Regions from separate parts of the Homo sapiens genome. Here regions 2 and 3 are each linked to region 1. The links are contacts of gene promoters, found by promoter capture Hi-C in blood cells and fetal thymus (Javierre and others, 2016). All regions are on one chromosome and are shown on one strand. The core of a region is centred on a gene start or on the middle of the fragment in contact, and the rest is flanking DNA. Distances in the headings are between cores, read along the strand shown.

Region 1 (4,455 bases), core at 1,262-3,761:
GCTGATGCCATGAAATGATGAGGTAGTATGGAGAGCTGGATTATCATCCTGCCTAAGCCAGTGAGCTGCAAAGATGCTGAGCAAGTCCTTTTCCTACTTGGGCCTAAATTTCCTCCTCTGTAGAGGCAATGGCGCCTCCCAGAAATATAATTCTCCAGTGTTCAGAAATACTTTGTGCTGCAGTGAACAACAGGATTAGAAGGAGCAGCCGGGGCCGGGCACGGTGGCTCATGCCTGTAATCCTAGCACTTTGGGAGCCCAAGGTGGGTGGGTCACCAGAGGTCAGGAGTTCAAGACCAGCCTTGCCAACATGGTGAAACCCCATCTCTACTAAAAGTACAAAAAAAAAAAATAGCCAGGCATGGTGGTGGGTGCCTGTAATCCCAGCTACTCAGGTGGCTGAGGCAGGAGAATCACTTGAACCCAGGGGGTGGAGGTTGCAGTGAGCTGAGATCAAGCTACTTCACTCCAGCCTGGGCAAAAGAGCAAAACTCTGTTTCAAAAAAAAAAAAAAAAGGAGCAGCTGGGAGCTGGGGTGGATGTGAAGGAGGGAGAAGGACACCATCTAAAAGGGAGCTGAACTTGAACTTCACCTCTTTTCCAGTGACTGCTCTTCTATGCTGTCAGTTCTTCCAGACATGACCTCCCTCAACGCCCCCACATAACCTCCTTTCCCAGCATAACTAAGCCCAGTGGTTCCCATCTCCCAGTCAGACTGGCCCCTCCCACTACCCCCAACCCACAGTTTAACTTCTGAGCCTGGAAGTTAAACTCCCATTCAGTGGGAGGGTGAGGAAGCTAGCACAGGGAAATTCTAACATCAAGTAGTAGAAATGAAGTATCCTGCCTGTTTAAGACACCAGCCACCCACAAGCCTGCTCTACTCTGTGCAAAATACACCCAACTCTGAGATTAATTTTTCCATTCTCAGCAGGTAAACCTTTACAAAAATCTTAAGGATCACCTTAGGCAATCACTTTTAGGAAGTTGTAGACTTTTCTGAAATTGGTAACATGTGTGGACTTTTTCCCTAAGAAAACTTAGGAGATGTATGCAATTTTAAGAGGTTCATACACCTTCTGAGAATCACTGTTTAAGAACTTCTGGTCTATTCAGAATGACACCTGATATATAGTAGATGCTATCATTTGTTGAATGAATGAACCAATTAATTCATCTCCTAAGTAAAGAAGGGAACCCACACTTGTTGAGGGCCTATATAGGACCATGAACTGGGGACACAAACTCAACCTCACGATAGCACTGATGAGGCATGTTCTACTAAGCTCATTTTACAGTGAGGAAAGAGAGGACCAGCCGGGCACGGTGGTTCACGGCTGTAATCCCAGCACTTTGGGAGGCCGAGGCGGGCGGATCACAAGGTCAGGATTTGGAGACCAACCTGGCCAAGATGGTGAAACCCCATCTCTACTAAAAATACAAAAATTAGCCGGGTGTGGTGGCGCGCGCCTGTACTCCCAGCTACCTGGGAGGCTGAGGCAGAAGAATCGCTTGAACCCGGGAGGCGGAGGTTGCAGTGAGCCGAGATCACGCCACTGCACTCCAGCCTGGGCGACAGAGTGAGACTCCGTCTAAAAAAAAAAAAAGAAAAGAAATCATATTCTCAACGTTGGAATCGGCCTCCCAGTTGCAAATCCCACCACAATACAACAGCAATTACAACTCTCAACTACAATTATGTTTGCATAGAGCTTCACGGTTTACAAAGCCCAGGTTACGTTTTGCAATTATCCTGTTTCACAGATTAAGAAGTTGAACTGAGGCCGGGCGCAGTGGCTCACGTCTATAATCCCAGCACTTTGGGAGGCGGGGGCGGGAGGATCACGAGGTCAGGAGTTCGAGACCAGCCTGGCCAACATGGTGAAACCCTGTCTCTACTAAAAATACAAAAATTAGCCGGGCGTGGTGGCGGACGCCTGTAATCCCAGCTACTCAGGAGGCTGAGGCAGGAGAATCGCTTGAATCCGGGAGGCGGAGGTTGCAGTGAACCGAGACTCCAGCCTGGGCAATAAGAGTGAAACTCCGTCTTAAAAAAATAAATAAGTTGAACTGAAAGCGTGGCCTAATAAGTGGCAAGGAGGAACACTTCCCCCAAATTTCTTCTTCTTAGTGCTTTGCCAGATCAGATCTGGGAGATTTCCCCCTCCCGCCGGCTTGCTGGATGACAGCGATCCGGCCTGGACTCTGCCCTGGGGAAGGCAGGAAGAAGGTAGTGAAAATGATTAAGTCCTCTTATTGCAGGCGCCAAAATGGGGCAGAAACCCTGCAGGAAGGCCAGGCCTCTGAGCCCAGTTCCACCCCCGTTCCCCTCCTCGGATCTGCTCCGGTCCTCCCCATCCGGACCCCATCCCTTCGGACGACCTGGCCAGCTCCTTTCCTTTCCCCATCCCCACCCGGGGAGACCCCGCGCCCAGCAGCTCACCGCGCTCGGGCACTGCTCCCTCTGCCACGCCTGTCAAGGCTCGGCAAACATCCGGCTCCGCGGTGGAACGGGAACCGCCCCCTCCCGCTCTCTTCTATCCCCAACCATTTCCGCCACACCTCCAACCCACTTCCGGCCCCAAACATGGCCTTTCCAGGAGCCCCGCCCACTTCCTGCACATGCCCGCCTAAGTTCCTGCCTCGGGGAGGTAACAGCATAACTGTCCGACTCGTCGCTCCCAAAGAGATGGCTGGAACAATTAGTTCCGCTTTCCCAGCTAGTCGAATCACTGGTGCACCTCCGGAATCCGAGGTTCGCATTGCTCTCGGACAGAGTTCTGCCTCCCCAGTACTCCCAAACTCCCAGTCCTGTGCACCAATGAGGTCCAGCTCTGAGGCTTCTTTCCTGAGAAAAAAATTTGGAAGTCCGTGACTGTTTCCTGGAGGAGCTGAGAAGAGGAAGCTCACTTCCGGCGTAGGGAGGCTTTCTGACCCGGAATGGAGGAGGCGGAGGAGCTGCTCTTGGAGGGGAAGAAGGCGCTGCAACTCGGTGAGTGACCTGCGATGTCCGCGACCCTCAACCTTGGCCCAGGTGGATCTGACGCTCTGTGGTCAGCTTTCTCCTCAGTCTTCTCTCCTCCGGATCCCAGGATCCTCCAGTGCCCTCAGAGTCGCTGGGGGCTTCTGAAGAGCCCTTGAGCCTCCTCAAAACTTTCAGGGCCCTCCTTAGAGCCCTCACCTGTCCCTCGGGCTCCGCAGGCCCACCTGGACCTGCGGTTTCCTCCCACACTTTTCCCCACCTCCCACCTTCTTGGGTGGCTCCCTCACTGTCTTCCCTTCTCTCTGCAGCCCGCGAGCCGCGCCTGGGCCTGGACTTAGGATGGAACCCTTCCGGAGAAGGCTGTACGCAGGGCCTCAAAGACGTCCCACCCGAGCCGACCCGAGACATCCTCGCTTTAAAGAGCCTTCCCCGGGGCTTGGCCCTTGGCCCCTCACTCGCCAAGGAACAGCGCTTGGGGGTCTGGTGTGTCGGGGACCCCCTGCAGCCCGGCCTGCTGTGGGGGCCGCTGGAAGAGGAGTCTGCCTCCAAGGAGAAGGGCGAGGGAGTAAAGCCACGGCAGGAGGAGGTATTGAAGGATAGAGCGACTTCCCTCCGCCCTTGAAAATGTAGGGGAGGTTTGGACATTGCTAGACAGCTTTTCAATTTGAAGAAAGAGAGTATTTCAAGAGATAGGAGATAGTCTTGTCCCTTCTCTTCAGGACTGTCTCCTCTCAGCAGCAGTAGTTAAAGAATCGAGGTTTGAAAAGTTGTTGAAAGCTGGAATCATACAGTGTCAGCAGTGAGTGAGGAAGGTCAAGAGCTAAGGTTTTTGGAATTAAGAAAGCATGGGATCAAATTCCAGCTTTGTCACCTAGCTGGTTAAATTACGTGCCGCATTTAATTCATCTGTGAAACAAAGCAGTGGCTCTCTTGGGATTATATGGAGGAGCTGATGAAATAGTGAAGATAAAAGGTTTCACTGCACAATAAGTACCATTTTATTTTATTTATTTTTCTTTTTTCTTAGACAGTCTTGCTTTGTCGCCCAGGCTGGAGTGCAGTGGCACGATCTCGCCTTATTGCAACCTCCACTTCCCAGGTTCAAGTGATTCTCATGCCTCAGCCTCCCGAGTAGCTGGGATTACAGATGTGCACCACCACACCCAGCTAATTTTTGTATTTTTAGTAGAGACAGGGTTTCACCATGTTGGTGAGGCTGGTCTCAAACTCCTGGCCTCAAGTAATCCGCCTGCCTGGGCCTCCCAAAGTGCTGAGATTACAGGTGTGAGCCCCCGCGCCTGGCCCAATAAATACCATTTTAAAAAGCTGGTGTTCCTTATTACTTTTTCTGTTTAGTACTCACTGGAAGACAGTAATGTGTTCAATTTAGTAATTCTCCATACCCTTGGGAGGGAGGTGAGGAGACAGACTTTTTGGTCCTTACTGAATGAAGAATCAGACAGCACTGTCCT
Region 2 (4,291 bases), core at 70-2,569, 550 kb after region 1:
ACAGCTCTCAGATGTCTTTTCCTGTAGTTGTGACCAAAAATACAAGAAGGAGGCCAAAGTGCCCAGCCTCAGCCTTAGGCTCCCTGAGGGCAAAAGATGAGGGCAGCATACCTTGTTCCCCTTGCCTCTGGAGCTCCCAACCTTACCTCTTGCCGGTGATAAGAGGTGTTTAGGAAGCCGTGATAGCGCTGCCGCAGGGCCTGGCCCAGTTCCCAGTGCTGTAGCATCCCCTCCTGTGGGCAAACCCAAGGGTTAAGAGGGTCTAGAGGGAAGGGGTGGCTTCAAGCCCCATGGGGTTTAGGCCCTGTTGCTTTCCAGGTTCACGCTTTGCTGGAGTCAATTAATCTGATCCCAGAAGTCTTTCATTAAGTGGCCAGTCATGCACAGCAATATCATGGGCACAGAGATTAAGGTTATGAAATCTGGTCAAAGTCAGCACCCATATGGGAAAAGGCAGTTTAGTAGGACCCCAAGTTTTGTAGACTGCTCTAGACGTCGCTCATTCTGCAGCTCATCCTGAGGAAAGGCTGGCTTCTGACCCACCTTGGTTAACTGACCAAACCCCTGGGGCCATTCTTCTTCCTGATAGGGGTCCTTGGGATATGTCTTCACTGGTGAACGGTCTCCATGGCGGTACAGCTGAGAGAATAAAATGGTTTGCCTATAGGTCAGAAGCATCCCCTTGATAGGGACCCAGAGCCTACCTTTTGCCCCATGTTAGGGAAGGAAGTCTCATTCCCTCTGGGAAGCCTACTGGCTGCAAAAGACCCCAGCTAGGAGTCAGTCACTTCTTCCAGATTCCAGAGATTCTAACTTAGCTAAGCAATGCTACTGGAGACCATAGGCAAAGCCAAGGTACAGGTAGGAAGGGAAAAGAGAAGTGAAAGCAACGTATGTGGTGGGGACAACTGGGGAAAAAAGATAACCAAAGGCTTCTTTAGGGATGAGTCTTAACCATTCAACCACTTCCCTGTCTCAAGGCAGACTCACCCCGACGTATTCGGTCATCCTGACTCCCATAAGCCAGGGCTCCAGGTCAATCCTGAATCCAGCCTCCCAACTACCCAGGCCAGTCGTCCCCTCCTAAACCAGCTGTTCCTTCCCGAGATCCTCGACCTCCACCAGCTGGCCTTTGCCCTTTTAGCTTCAGGGAAGTCTTTGGTGAGCCCATCTCTCATTACCAAGGTAACGAAGCGCAGACTCCGGGCCCGGGTGGGCGGCATCACCACCAGGTTCACGCCGAGAAGGAGCTGGAGGAGAGCCGCCCGGCTCCAGCCGGACCGCTTGCCCGCCATCACCGTTGTAATCTATGCAGCAAACAAGCTGGAACCCGCTGGGTGGCACCTGCAAGCAGCCGCCCGGACGCACCCGTAAGGACACACGCCGGAAGTGCGTTCGCCGCCATCTTACTTAGGGACCTGCTGGGGTGCGGGGAAAAGGCGCAGTCTCGGTGGGATTGCGTGCAGGAGGGTCGTGGTCTGGCTGTGGCGGAGGAGCATAAGAAGGTAACGCGACCTGGCGCGGCAGACAGGGCTCGAAGACCTCATCTTGATTAAGAAGGCCACAAATTCGCGTTTGCCTCTGCTCGGAGAAATCCCTTACCAAGGTGGCACTTGCAGTGGGCGGGACCATGTCTGGAGAACCAGCGTCCCCTCCAGGCTTGACCCCATAGCTAGATCGGGTGCAGAATTGAGGCGAGGGATGGGAAAGTAGAGGTCGCTTCTCTCCACGCCCCTGCCTTTGTGGGGAGATTGAGCCCTGGCCCTGTTCTCCAGGAGATGTTTTGCTTGGGGTGCAGGACACAGTATGTAAACAACCCTTTGGACTCCGTGTGTCCTTGAGGTTGCCCCAGTCTGGCCTACCGTTCCTGCCCTGCACAAAGCTTCAGTAGCCCTCTCACTTTCCCTTCCAGTCCTTTCCCTGTCCTCCCTCCCCTCCACTTCCAAGTTTTAGTTAATTAGAGTCAAGACGTCATGTCATGCCTCTTCCCAAAGGAGTTGGGTTGCACAGGATGTTCAGACTTTACAAACCCAAAGCACTGAATCCCTGGGGGAGGAATTTCAGACCAGTGGGGAGGTATTTTGAGGTAAGGGACAGGCGCATATCATAAAGTGGGAGTAGGTGGGGTTTCCACAGAATCAATGGCCCTCTTGGCATTGACCATTAGGATTCAGGTGCAGCCAGTTTGGCCTCAGGACTTTGTGACTCCTGTGACGGTTGCAGGTCAGATCATAGGTCCTGGGGATGCTTTGATTCAGATCTGCCTACTGGAAGCAAATCTCCTCAGATCTTTGGGAAACAAAACTGATCAGGCTTGGCCTGGGCGCCGTGGCTCACCTGTAATACCAGCACTTTGAGAGGCCGAAGCAGGCAGATCACCTGAGGTCAGGAGTTCGAGACCAGCCTGGCCAACGTGGCGAAACCCCGTCTCTACTAAAAATACAAAAAAAAAAAAATTAGCCGGGTGCAGTGGCGTGCTCCTGTAATCCCAGCTACTCTGGAGGCTGAGGCAGGAGAATCGCTTGAACTCGGAAAGCGGAGGTTGCAGTGAGCTGAGATCACGCCACTGCACTCCAGCCTGCGCGACAGAGTGAGACTGTCTCAAAACAACAACAACAAAAACCTGATTAGGCTTGGTGTGGTGGCTCACGTTTCTAATCCCAGCACTTTGGGAGGCCAGGGTGGGAAGATTGCTTGAGCCCAGGAGTTGGAGACCAGCCTGAGCAGCTTAGGAAGATCTCCTCTCTACAAAAAAAAGTTTAAAAATTAGCTGGGTGTGGTGGCACACACCTGTGGTCCTAGCTCCTCGGGAGGCTGAGGTGGGAGGATCACCTTCAGCCCAGGAGGTTGAGGCTGCAGTGAGCCATGATGGTGCAACTGCACTCCAGTCTAGATGACAGAGCAAGACTGTGTCTCAAAAAGAAGAAAAGAAAAAAAAAGATCAGGATTATCTGTCTTTATTTTGTCCTAGGACTCCAGATTCAATTATTTATATATACTTCAGGATTTAAACTTTGCTTCCAGAGTTGTCATGGAGGAGGCCAAGAAGCAAATAGAGTAAGAGCCAAAGCCTGGGTAGCCAAACAGTTCTTAACCTTCTTATTTAATCACAAGCCCCTTTATGAATCACATGAAAATTTTGCACCTCTCCTCCAGAAAAATGTTCACACATATAAACACACACATGGAATTTTGCATATAATCCCAAATGGTTCACAAAGACCATTTATTACAGGTTTCATAAATCAGCATCTCTGAATACCTGATTTAACCTAGTCCTCTTACTTTACAGCTTAGGAAACAAACCTAAAGAGAGGAAGTGACTTGCCCAAATTCACAGTTTGGGCATGGGCACAGTTTGAGAATGGATTAAAAGTCAAGTTTTGGCCGGGTGCGTGCTCACGCCTGTAATCCCGGCACTTTGGGAGGCCGAGGCGGGTGGATCACGAGGTCAGGAGATCAAGACCATCCTGGCTAACATGGTGAAACCCCATCTCTACTAAAAATACAAAAAGTTAGCCGGGTGTGGTGGCAGGTGCCGGTAGTCCCAGCTACTCAGGAGGCTGAGGCAGGAGAATGTCGTGAACCCAGCAGGCGGAGCTTGCAGTGAGCGGAGATCGTGCCACTGCACCCCAGCCTGGGCGACAGAGCAAGACTCCGTCTCAAAAAAAAAAAGTCAGGTTTTGTGATTTTCAGTTAAATAGTCTATAATGGGCTGCTTCTTGCAGGCTACTCAAACTGCATTACTAAACTGTAATTGGTGATCCCGAAATCCTTTCAATAAAGAGGTATCTGTCAAAGGAAACCTTTTCAAATTAGTTGGACTAAACGGGACCTAGGCCGGACATGGCTCACACCTGTAATCCCAGCACTTTGGGAGGACGAGGCGGGTGGATCACCTGAGGTCAGCAGTTCAAGACCAGCCTGGCCACCATGGTGAAACCCCATCTCTACTAAAAATACAAAAATTAGCCAGTCGTGGTGGCGTGTGCCTGTAATCCCAGCTACCGGGGAGGCTGAGACAGGAGAATCACTTGAACCCAGGATACAGAGGCTGCCGTGAGCCGAGATTGTGCCACTTCACTCCAGCCTGGGCAACAGAGCGAGACTCTGTCTCAAAAAAAAAAATAAAATAAAGAGGGCTTGGGTAATTGGCAAAATGCTGCATATTAGTGGTAGTGGGAGGCAGTTGAGTGTTTTGTTTTAATGGGCCTCTTACTCCTTGCAAACTAGCCAGACCATTGTACTTTCAGAGTGTAAATCTTTGGCTCACCAAATTTCAGCTATCTCT
Region 3 (4,446 bases), core at 65-2,564, 880 kb after region 1:
CCCTTGAGTAGCTGGGACTACAGGTGCATGCCACCACGCCCGGCTAATTTTTTGTATTTTTTTAGTGAAGACTGGGTTTCACCATGTTGGCCAGGATGGTCTCAATTTCCTGACCTCGTGATCTGCCTGCCTTGGCCTCCCAAAGTGCTGGGATTACAGGCATGAGCCACCATGCCCGGCCCTTGTTTAATCTTTCTGAGCTTTCATTTTCTTACCGGGAAAATAAATATAAAGCTGTCCTTATCTTATAGAATGGTTATAAGGATCCAATGAGATAGTTCAAGTAAATTGCTTGCACACAGTGTTTTCAATACATTTAGCTATTAATATTTTACTGATTATCTACTGTTTGCCAGACTCTGGGATGGAGAGAGAAATAACATGAAGTATTTGTCCTCCAGGAGTCCCCTACACTCTAGTGAAGGAGAAAGACACCTAAACAGCTTACTGTAGTAACATATAATACAAAGGATATTAGAGGGATGCTTTAAGAAAGCAGGAGGGGCACTTGGCCCTGTCTGGGAGGCTTCTTTGAAAAGAGAGAATGTTTGTGCTGAATCTAAAATATGAGTAGGAGACCAGGTAGCCTTGTGAGATGGACCAGGGAAATATTCCTGACAAAGTGAATAGCATGAGCAAACACAGGCATGCTGACATGCTAAGCTACAGCTGTGGCCTGGGCCTTTGGAAGTAGTTGTAAGCATAGGAGAATCTTGAGGTTTTGAGGTTCAGAATAGAAGGCAGGGTCACAGGGCAGAACTCTCCCAATCAGGGACTCCCATCTCAGCCCTCCAGATCCTTCTGTTCTCCCTAGATTGTCTACAACCTGTTGTCTCTGCGCTTCAACTCACGGATCCGTGTGAAGACCTACACAGATGAGCTGACGCCCATTGAGTCTGCTGTCTCTGTGTTCAAGGCAGCCAACTGGTATGAAAGGGAGGTGAGTTACCGGATATGGTGGACCTGCCTCTGGGCCACAGTTGCAGAACTGGTTCAGACTACGGGATGCAGTGTAGCCCCTTCCCCCTGTTGTTAGTCTTGATGGATTGGCTGTTTGAGGTGGTCTCTTTCCTAGATCTGGGACATGTTTGGAGTCTTCTTTGCTAACCACCCTGATCTAAGAAGGATCCTGACAGATTATGGCTTCGAGGGACATCCTTTCCGGAAAGACTTTCCTCTATCTGGCTATGTTGAGGTAGGAGCCTTGGAACTGGGACAGCAGCCTCAGGGAGGGACTTGCAGAGAACCCAGGGGATCCCTGGGAATGGCAAGAAATACGGTCTGTGGATTGTGGTGGTTTAAGAGCATGGGCCCTGGATTCAGATCCTAGCTTCATTTTTGTAACCTGGGGCAAGTTACTTGGTTTGACTGTAACTCAGTTTTCTCATCTTAAAATGGCAATAATAATAGCACTTTAATAGATTTGTGGCTGGCATTAAATAATGTATGTGTAGGCTCACGCCTGTAATCCCAGCACTTTGGGAAGCCAAGACAGGAGGAGTGCTTGAGTCCAGGAGTTCGAGAACAGCCTAGGCAACATGGTGAAACCTCTTCTCTACAAAAAAATAGAAAAATTAACGGGGCATGGTGGTGCATTCCTGTGGTCCTGGCTGCTCAAGAGGCTGAGGTGGGAGGATCGCTTGAGCCTAGAAGGCGGAGGTTGCAGTGAGCCGAGATCACGCCACTGCTCTCCAGCCTGGGCAACAGAGTGAGACCCTGTCTCTAAATAAATAAATGATGTATGAAGCCTGCTGTATTGTAAAGGCTCAATTGATGCTGTGTGTGTGTGTGTGTGTCAGGGTCTCACTCTTGTCACCTAGGATGGAGTGCAGTGGTGCGATCATGGCTCACTGCAGTCTTGACCGCCCAGGCTCAAGTAATCCTCCCACCTCTCAGCCCTCCGAGTAGCTGGGACTACAGGCATGCACCAACATGCCCAGCAAATTTTTGTATTTTTTGTAGAGACGGGGTTTCTCCATGTTGCCCAAACTGGTCTCGAATTCCTGGGCTCAAGTCATCTGCCCGCCTCAGCTTCTCAAAAGTGCTGGGATTACAGGTGTGAGCCACCACACCTGGCCAGTGTTATCCATTATTGTAATGATCATTTTAATGATCAAGGCAGCCTTGACGACACAGTCTGTCCCTAAAACCTGAAAGTAGAGGATTATTTTACCCTGCCCTGACTCTCTGGGAAGGCAGTGACGGGGAAGACACCAGATGCTTAGCCCTCAAAAATTACCTCTGAGGTGGGACCAGTAACGTGAATAAAGAATTTCAGTGGTGCTGCAGGTTATTTGCAGGAAGATAGTGTGTAATATTATCACTCGTGAATTTTATAGCAAAGTAACTGTTTAGAAATGCAGAGATGTGGTGCTCCAGCCCTGCTCTTTTAGTTCCCAGTCACTCCTGCTGTGTTAGTGCTTTGCATGCTCCTATTTCCCTCTTGGGCTACTTCTGGGCAGGGCTATCTCCCTCGCTTCTCCCTTTCACCCCACTCCTGCTATCTGCCTCACCTGGTTTGCCTCTTCACTCTAGCACCTGATGATCCTTACCTTATCCATTTGATCCCCAAGTAACAAGAAAAGCTGTGTCAAATGTACTGCTTTAGATCTGGACTGTGAATATGCCAAGGGCACCGGGCCTGAGGTTGTGTATCTGCCAGTTTAGGTTTACTCTTTTCAGCCACCGACTACTCCCTAATCCTGGGCAAATGCTTACCATTACCTTGTAAGAGTGTGTGGGTGGGTGAGCAGTCAGTTCGGAGCTCCTGATGTGGGAGTGGTGAGCAGGGGAATCTGACTGGTGCTGGCAGGGCATGAGAGGTATCCTACATTTTGGAATCACACACTCTAGCTGGTTGGGATGTGATCTGACGGGTAACACAGGTATGGATGGAGACTTACTGACAGAGGCTGGGACAGGAGTCAGTAACCGAGAGGAATGGGCTGGGGAAGTCACCAATAGCCTTGTGAAAAGTAGGCTCCTGTGTAGCTATAATAAGGACTTCCTTAGTGCTCAAGCCTGCCTTTTGCTCCTGCAGTTACGTTATGATGATGAAGTGAAGCGGGTGGTGGCAGAGCCGGTGGAGTTGGCCCAAGAGTTCCGCAAATTTGACCTGAACAGCCCCTGGGAGGCTTTCCCAGTCTATCGCCAACCCCCGGAGAGTCTCAAGCTTGAAGCCGGAGACAAGAAGCCTGATGCCAAGTAGCTCCAGGGAACGCATGTGGATCCTAGACAGCGCCTTATCTATGATTGAGTGTCCGTGTAAATAAATTCCTACTTAGACTTACCACTTTGTGTGTGCTTGTAATGTGGAGAAGTGATGCTTTGGGGGGGACACAGGCAGGCAGGGGTGTTTCCCTGCTCTCTTAGAGAGGCACTACTAAACCAGGGAGTCTTTGATGGGTTTTTTTTTTTTTTTTTGAGACAGTGTTTCGCTCTTGTTGCCGAGGCTGGAGTACAATGGCGTGATCTCGGCTCACCACAACCTCCGCCTCCTGGGTTCAAGTAATTCTCTTGCCTCAGCCTCCCGAGTAGCTGGGATTACAGGTGTGTGCCACCACACCTGGCTAATTTTGTATTTTTAGTAAAGACGGGGTTTCTCCATATTGGTCAGGCTGTTCTTGAACTCCTGACCTCAGGTGATCTGTCTGCTTCGGCCTCCCAAAGTGCTGGAATTATAGGCGTGAGCCACTGTGACCAGCTCTTTTATGTTTTTTTGAGATGGAGTCTCGCTCTGTCACCCAGGCTGGAGTGCAGTGGTGCTGTCGCAGCTCGCTGCAACCTCCACCTCCCAGGCCCAAGCGGTTCTCCCCCCTCAGCCTCCCAAGAAGCTGGGATTACAGATGCACGCCACCACGCCCAGCTAGTTTTTATAGTTTTTGTAGAGATGGGATTTCACCATGTTGCCCAGGCTGGTCTCGAACTCCTGGCCTCAAATGATCCACACTGGCCTCCCAAAGTGCTGGGATTATAGGCGTGAGCCACCACACTCAGCCGGAGGTCTATTTTAATGGGACTAAAGAGTGTAGTTGCAGACGTGGTGGCCTGCAGGCATGGATGTATTTCTGAGAGGGATTCTGGAGCTGTAACTGAAAGTTCTCACAGTCCACAGGGTTCAGGATGGGTGTGGCATGGTAGCCAATCACTCTTGGGCTACAGGAATCTCCCTGGTTTCTGGCCTGAGCTGAGAATGGTGGGGTTCTTTTTTTCTTCTTCTTTTTTTTTTTTTTTTGAGATGGAGTTTTGCTATTGTTGCACAGGCTGGAGTGCAATGGCATGATCTTGGTTCACTGTGACCGCCGCCTCCCGGGTTCAAGCAACTCTGCCTCAGCCTCCCGAGTAGCTGGGATTACAGGCTTGCGCCACCACGCCCGGCCAATTTTGTATTTTTAGTAGAGATGGGGTTTCTCCATGTTGGTCAGGCTGGTCTCAAACTCCCGACCT

Evidence for each region. Contacts are between HindIII fragments. The CHiCAGO score rates a contact against its expected background, and 5 or more counts as called.
Region 2: a contact is called between the fragment with the promoter of ACP2 here and the fragment with the promoter of ARHGAP1 in region 1, in 1 of 17 cell types (total CD8 T cells). The highest score is 5.3, in total CD8 T cells.
Region 3: a contact is called between a fragment that was not itself captured here and the fragment with the promoter of ARHGAP1 in region 1, in 1 of 17 cell types (neutrophils). The highest score is 8.0, in neutrophils.

Annotation. Positions count from the first base shown.
Region 1 is chr11:46,698,108-46,702,562 of GRCh38, forward strand. ARHGAP1 (Rho GTPase activating protein 1) reads right to left here and starts at 2,512. Exons shown (of 13, transcript NM_004308.5): 1 at 2,444-2,512. It overlaps ZNF408 (zinc finger protein 408), which reads left to right and starts at 2,924. Exons shown (of 5, transcript NM_024741.3): 1 at 2,924-2,992; 2 at 3,292-3,569. The coding sequence starts at 2,941. RefSeq lists a silencer at 2,268-2,387 and an enhancer at 2,718-3,007. The HindIII fragment of the contact is 11,026 bases long and covers 1-4,455 here.
Region 2 is chr11:47,247,495-47,251,785 of GRCh38, forward strand. ACP2 (acid phosphatase 2, lysosomal) reads right to left here and starts at 1,320. Exons shown (of 11, transcript NM_001610.4): 1 at 1,182-1,320; 2 at 544-639; 3 at 147-233. The coding sequence starts at 1,295. It also overlaps a transcript of NR1H3 not described here. RefSeq lists enhancers at 786-875, 1,006-1,515 and a silencer at 1,596-1,763. The HindIII fragment of the contact is 7,782 bases long and covers 1-1,880 here.
Region 3 is chr11:47,581,274-47,585,719 of GRCh38, forward strand. NDUFS3 (NADH:ubiquinone oxidoreductase core subunit S3) reads left to right here. Exons shown (of 7, transcript NM_004551.3): 5 at 815-940; 6 at 1,076-1,195; 7 at 3,041-3,289. The coding sequence ends at 3,208. Among named protein-coding and RNA genes, the nearest start is that of FAM180B, 3.2 kb to the right of the region's middle. The HindIII fragment of the contact is 3,712 bases long and covers 1-3,170 here.